Regions from separate parts of the Homo sapiens genome. Here region 1 is linked to region 2. The links are contacts of gene promoters, found by promoter capture Hi-C in human tissues and cell types (Jung and others, 2019). All regions are on one chromosome and are shown on one strand. Each heading gives the region's core, a stretch centred on a gene start or on the middle of the fragment in contact. The rest is flanking DNA. Distances are from core to core; before and after follow the strand shown. Region 1 overlaps LARS2 (leucyl-tRNA synthetase 2, mitochondrial). Region 2 holds the start of TMEM158 (transmembrane protein 158).

The links. Contacts are between HindIII fragments. The study calls those that stand out against the background at their distance.
Region 1: a contact is called between a fragment that was not itself captured here and the fragment with the promoter of TMEM158 in region 2, in 3 of the 25 tissues and cell types used here (H1 embryonic stem cells, hippocampus and lymphoblastoid cells).

What each region holds. Positions count from the first base shown.
Region 1 is chr3:45,543,352-45,546,748 of GRCh38, reverse strand. All of the region lies in intron 21 of LARS2 (leucyl-tRNA synthetase 2, mitochondrial), which reads right to left. Among named protein-coding and RNA genes, the nearest start is that of LARS2-AS1, 36 kb to the right of the region's middle. RefSeq lists an enhancer at 858-1,152 and silencers at 1,539-1,749, 2,542-2,768. The HindIII fragment of the contact is 7,069 bases long and covers 1-3,397 here.
Region 2 is chr3:45,224,679-45,228,145 of GRCh38, reverse strand. TMEM158 (transmembrane protein 158) reads left to right here and starts at 1,859. Exons shown (of 1, transcript NM_015444.3): 1 at 1,859-3,467. The coding sequence starts at 2,119. The coding sequence ends at 3,021. RefSeq lists silencers at 1,613-1,952, 1,963-2,032. The HindIII fragment of the contact is 8,880 bases long and covers 1-3,467 here.

The sequences.
Region 1 (3,397 bases), core at 547-3,046, 320 kb before region 2:
CAGACACAGGTGGGTATTCACCGAATATTGATTCAATGAGGGAAGGTGACCACGTGGCTCAGTTTCTGAAGTCATGCTTCCAAATCCTCAATCCCATTGCTCCGAAATCTACACACACATTACTTTCACTAGCTCTTATTTTTCACTTGGAAAATATAGTCACAGTCTTAGGAAAAGTTACTAGGAATAATTTCTCAAGTTTCAACCAAAGCACATTATCAAATGTCCCCTAATCACCCACTTCATTTTTTCAGTTTTGCAGAACTTGGTGGCATTTTTATTGTCTGCATTAGCCTAGGTCACAGGGAGAGGACGAATAAAACACAAAGTCCTGGCATATTATGAAATACTGTTTTGAAAGCGTGAGGCTCCATGCTGCAGCGTTTTAAAGCGTTCTGAAGCTGGGGAACTAAGTGTGTGGTGTGAAGGACTGTGGCCCCCCTGCCCTGGTGTTTCTGAGCCATTAGAAGCTGCCTTCTTGCAAGGCCACATGCTTGGCTGGACTGAGACCCTGGAAGAGACCTCCCAACTGTCACCCAAGAGCCATGCCCCTAGTGAAGTCCTGGGGTCCCCAACAGGGAATTCTCAGGACATGCAGTTATTAGTGAATCATGTCTTTCCTCCTATGGAAGAGCAGCCCAGGGCAACATCTCCTCTGGGCCACCACCTACAGAGGGGGTGCTGGGTGAGGGGGAGCATGGTGCTCTCATGTGGGGAGATTCAGGTTTGACTCTTAGGCCTGGTCTTACAAGCTGTGGGATCTTGAGCTTAGTTTTTTTTTTTTTTTTCCTTAAGGACAGAATTCTCCAGATTCTGGAGTGAATAACCTGTGTAAAGGGACCAGCTCACTAAGCTGCACTCCCTCTGCCTTTGTCAAGAGTGCTGGCCAGGATAGGAGCTGGCTGTGGGATGTCCTCTTTGACGCATGGCCTCAGCACAACAATGACCCATTTCTAAACCTTCGAGCTTCCTGTGCTTTGCTGGAGCCGGGCAGGCTGGTCCTAAGTCATCACTGGTGACAGCCTGTCCAAGGGACCTGAGTCATTCTTGTCCACAGCTGGGGCTTTGGGGGCAGGGCATGTGATCTCTGAATGTGGCCATCGTGCTCTGAGTCTTTCCCTTGCTGCCTCGGGCACCCTCACACGGTTCTGGCTCCCCAGGCCTCCCCTGAGTTGCCTTACCAAGGCAGTCCCTTCAGGGTGAGTAGGTGCCAATCATGCTCCCCCTGTCTCTGGCATAAAGCGCCAATGAGATGGGCAGAGAAGTCAGGTTGGGACTCAACACTGAGCCTGAGCTTCAAGGGCCCAAAGAGGAAGAAGCACATTGACATCACTTCAAAAAGAGGCTGCTATGCTGTGGGGCTCTTGCACCTCCATCTTTGGAGAAGGCCTAAGCATGACTCTCCTGGACTTTTCTGACACCTGCCGGACAGGGCCCAGGCCACAGGTGTTCCTCCCACTCGAATCCATCACCTGTCCCCATCATGAGGGTAGCCTTGCGATGGCTAATAACAGTACAAGCTTCCATTTGCTGAGCTCTCACTCTGTGCCAAGCATTGAACTATGCAATTCACTTGTATGAACCTGTGAGTCGATGCATGAATATCCCATCCCATTTTACAGATAGGGAAGCTGAGGCACATGAAGTGAAGTCACTTGTCCACCTAGGCTCCACCCCAGGCAGTGGAAGAGACGGGATGACCTGACACAGCCCCTCTCTCTCCTGCTCACACACCCTGGTAGCCCCCTGTCCTCTGAGGGGTGTCTGGCCTCTGAGGAGGGGACACTCCCTACCTTTAGCTTTGTCTCCAGCACTGCCCTATGCCCTCTGCTCCAGTACCTCCCTGGCTCAGCCCGGGTCTCTGTGGGCCTGCCCCCCTATGTTTGTTCCTGGTATTGCGACACCCTTCTCTCCACTGGGGAGAGGCTGCTCCTCTTTCAAAGCCAAAGCTGCCTGTCCTTTTCCTCATAACGTATTTTCTGATTCTCCAACTGCCAGAAGTGGCAACGCTGATGCTAGCAGCAGTCACCATTCAGAGTAGATTCTGGACTAGCTGTGTGACCTTCAGTGAGTTATTTAGCTCCATCCTGCCACCATTTCCTTGCCTGTAAGATAGGGTTAGTCACACATCTGCCTGTCTGTGAATGGGGATAACAACAAGCCTGCCTCACAGGGCCACTGTGCTTAGTAAATAAGCTCACACCTGGGAAGTTCTAGGGCAGAGCGTGGCCCTGGGTCGGCGCTCACTCTGTATTAAGAGGATTTTGTCATTAGTGCATCCAGAAGCAGGCTAAGCACTTCCTGGCATTATCCTACCTAATTCTCTCAATAGCCGGATAAGGCAGGCACTGTGTGTGCCTCCATTTTATAACTCAGGAAACTGAGGCTTAGAGGTGTTAAATATGTTGTAAAACTGAGACTTATACCCAGGATGGCCTGACTTCCGAGCCCTTACATAAACTGTGTGTGACAGCTCATGTGCCCCCAGACCTTTGTTCCAAGGTGACAAGGCGGTAGCTCTTGTCTCTGTATCCCTGGTGTGGGCAGAGCCCAGCATGTCACAGGCACAAAGAACATGGGCACAATTGAACTGAATGACATCGAACTGCGCTTGCAGCCTGTTTCTGGCCAGGACACAAAGTGAGATCACATGGAGCGAGAACCCAGGCCTTCACAGAAGTCCTTGCTGCTGGCACGGTGCTGACCCAGCCTGGGTTCTCAAGCTGGGTGTACCTGCAGGGAGTCTTACACATGCTTTTCATTTTAGGTTTGCATTTCAATGATTATCTAAAATTATTTTTACCAACGATCAAAACTCAATTTCTTTTCTGCAGTGGTAATTTAAGATAGATATTTTCATAGACTAAAGCCCTCTCTTTTTCTTAAGTTAGCATTTCTCAACCGGGCTGAGGACAAGTTCTCAGGGATGCATGAGCTATTTATTTCTCATAAACATTACTCAAATTAAATAAATTTCTGGGCTGGGGCTGGGTGCGGTGGCTCCTGCCTGTAATCCCAGCACTTTGGGAGGCTGAGGTGGGCAGATCACTTGAGGTCAGGAGTTTGAAACCAGCCTGGCCAACATGGTGAAACTCCATCTCTACTAAAAATACAAAAATTAGCTGGGCATGGTAGCACATGCCTGTAATCTCAGCTACTTGGGAGGCTGAGGCAGGAGAATTGCTGTAAGTGGAGGTTGTAGTGAGCCAAGATTGTGCCACTGCACTCCAGCCTGGACAACAGAGTGAGAGAGACTCTGTCTCACCAAAAAAAAAAATAAAAAAATAAAAAAAAAAAATTCTGGGTTGGGTGTGGTGGCTCATGTCTGTAATCCCAGCAATTTGGGAGGCTGAGGCAAGAGGACTGCTTGAGCCCAGGAGCTTGAGACCAGCCCAGG
Region 2 (3,467 bases), core at 610-3,109:
CGCAACTTTGCAGGGAACTGCTTGGCTCCCCAAATAGATCTCTTGTCTTTTCCCTTTGCTGCTGCCTTCCCCCCTGCACAGACAAAGCCAGGAGTGTCTCAGGAAAGCTCAGGAAGCCTCTGCCTCTGACTGAAACCCCAGAGAATGTCATCTGCAGTCACAGGCAACAGCCTGGCTCAAAACGCACCCCTTGAAGATTAGGCCTCCCTCAGCCCTCAGGATCACTTGATATTCCTGTTCTTCAGGGTTCACCAGACACATGGCTTAAATTAAAACTGTTCTGCCACATCACTGAGCAGCTTCTGTTCCTGATATGCAAAGGTTGAAAGGAGAAGTCATTTTTATTAAAAGCAGGAAAATTCACATTGTTCTCCCTGGTAGCACCACTTCCAAGCACAAAAGTGATGGAGGCTGAAACGAAAAGGGAGTCCCATCCCCTTGGGGAAATGAACCATTTCTGTAGAAACCAAGGACCACTCTAGGCAGCCAACTTGGGCAGCACTGTTAGTAACCACATCACAGCAACCACCATGTGGGAACATCTGGGGACAGATAGACACTGGGTTGGGAGTATTATCACAGCAGCCCTGTGAGGAGGTACCACCCACCCCCCAACTCAGATGGGGAAACCAAGGCTAAGTCAGAATAATGGCTTGCTTAGATGGCAAGAGGTGGAATAAGTTGGGGAGCTTTATTTTGAGGCGTTTTTGCAACTTTCTCAGTCCCATTTTACTCATTGTTAGAAAACAATGGACAAAAGCTTCCAGAAAAGTAATCAGCCAGGATGCCTAGCAATGTAGCTGGACTCTTGGCAGACCTCTCAGGATTAGCTGGTTTAGAAGGAAGGCGGTTTTGTTGAGGCCTTTCTCTGCTCCCTCCACCCCTCCCCTCTCCGAATCAGGAATACTTGGTGCTCATGGAGTACAAGGGCTTCCAACTAAAATAAAATAGATAATAATTCAACATAAATGTCCCCTAAAGAACGATGGGAATGATGAAGGGTCGTTGAAGTTTGTTTCCAAGTGTGAGGGGCCGAACTACTAAGAAAGTGCTTTTCAATATAAATGTGATAAATCTGATCTCTTGACACGTTATTCTTGGTAGCCCTCCTCCCGTATAATATCCCAAAGGGGATGAACTGCCCCTTTGACGTGGGTTCTAACCTACAACTGTTTCATGAACACGCGCTCACTCGACCTGTCAGGACCTGTGTCCTCGGGACCCCCAGGCGGCACAGCTTCAGGGCTCACATTCCCCCCAGCCAGTCACTCTCCACTCGAAACTCCACAGAGTTCTTGGAATTTTCCTCGCTTGCTGCGAGGAGAATCCCAAGTGAGTCTGCTGTGTTGGAGCCATTAAAAAGCAGCCAAACTCTACAGATTTGAGGTAAGAGACACCGTAAAAAGGCAGAAAGAGCTAGTGGCGCGGACTTGTTTCTGGCTCATGAGTTGGCCTAGCGAGGCCCTTTCCCCTCTCTCGACCTCAGTTTCCCCTTCTGTAAAACAAAGGAGGTTCGGTAGCACTAAGGCGAGACAGCGAAGCTCCCCTCAGGCCTGACAAAAGGATGGTCTCCGGGCCCTGGAGCCTCCCTCTGAGAACGCGATTCACCCGGAGCGCGGGGGCGCCCGGGCGCGTCCGCAGGCTTCCCCGCCCGCCCGCACGCACCCCGGGCGATCCGCTCTCCGCCGCGCCCCCGCACCCAGCCCCGCCCCGGCGATTCCTCTCCCAGCCCCGGCGCGTGGAACCCCGCCCTCCCCTGAGTCCCCGAGCCTGGCGAGCGGAGGGCGGGGCGGGGCGGGGCACGCGGGAGGCGGAGCCGAGCCGGGGAATCCTGCTCTGGGATAGCACCCGGCCCCGCAGAGCAGCGCGGCAGCCCAAGGGCCCCGGCGCCGGGGGCGGCGGGGAACCCCAAACGCAACCGGGTCTGGAGGGATCCCCGCGCCGAGCCAGCCGCCGTCACCGCCTCCGCGCCGCCCCTGCGGGCTTGGCAGGCGCCCGGCGCGCCCGCACTGCGCCCGGCCGCCGGCTCCCGCGGTCCCACCGTGAGCTCGCCGGCCCGTCGCCCGCTCGCCATGCAACCGCCGCCGGCCTCGCGCGCGTAGGCGCCCGCCGCAGGCCATGCTGCCCCTGCTCGCCGCGCTCCTGGCCGCCGCCTGCCCGCTGCCGCCCGTCCGCGGCGGGGCCGCGGACGCGCCCGGCCTCCTCGGGGTGCCCTCCAATGCTTCAGTCAACGCGTCCTCCGCGGACGAGCCCATCGCCCCGCGGCTGCTGGCCTCGGCGGCCCCCGGGCCCCCCGAGCGCCCGGGCCCGGAGGAGGCGGCGGCGGCGGCGGCGCCGTGCAACATCAGCGTGCAGCGGCAGATGCTGAGCTCGCTGCTCGTGCGCTGGGGCCGCCCGCGGGGCTTCCAGTGCGACCTACTGCTCTTCTCCACCAACGCGCACGGCCGCGCTTTCTTCGCCGCCGCCTTCCACCGCGTCGGGCCGCCGCTGCTCATCGAGCACCTGGGGCTGGCGGCGGGCGGCGCGCAGCAGGACCTGCGCCTCTGCGTGGGCTGCGGCTGGGTGCGCGGTCGCCGCACCGGCCGCCTCCGGCCCGCCGCCGCCCCCAGCGCCGCCGCCGCCACCGCCGGGGCGCCCACCGCGCTGCCAGCCTACCCCGCGGCCGAGCCGCCCGGGCCGCTGTGGCTGCAGGGCGAGCCGCTGCATTTCTGCTGCCTAGACTTCAGCCTGGAGGAGCTGCAGGGCGAGCCGGGCTGGCGGCTGAACCGTAAGCCCATTGAGTCCACGCTGGTGGCCTGCTTCATGACCCTGGTCATCGTGGTGTGGAGCGTGGCCGCCCTCATCTGGCCGGTGCCCATCATCGCCGGCTTCCTGCCCAACGGCATGGAACAGCGCCGGACCACCGCCAGCACCACCGCAGCCACCCCCGCCGCAGTGCCCGCAGGGACCACCGCAGCCGCCGCCGCCGCCGCCGCTGCCGCCGCCGCCGCGGCCGTCACTTCGGGGGTGGCGACCAAGTGACCCGCTCCGCTCCTCCCTGTGTCCGTCCTGTGTCCGCGCGCGCGGGTGCCTTTCCCGCCGGAGACTCGGCCGGTGTGCTTCGTGCTGTAGTTATCGTTAGTTCCTCTTCCCGAGATGGGGCCGCCGAGAGACCCCAGCGCCTTTGAAAAGCAAGGTTTGTGCTGCGCTTCCAGTTCCGAAAAGCAGATGTTTAAGCCCTTGGACTGAGGGTGGGATCGCAGCTCCGAAGACGGAGAGGAGGGAAATGGGGCCCTTTCCCCTCTATTGCATCCCCCTGCCCGACTCCTTCCCCGCACCCACGTGCCCTAGATTCATGGCAGAAAATGACCAAATCCTGTGTATTTGTTTTATATATTTAATAACTGTTTTAAATGAAAGTTTTAGTAAAAAAAATACAAAACAAAAAGATTAAATTGCTATTGCTGTAGTAAGAGAAGCTCTTTGTA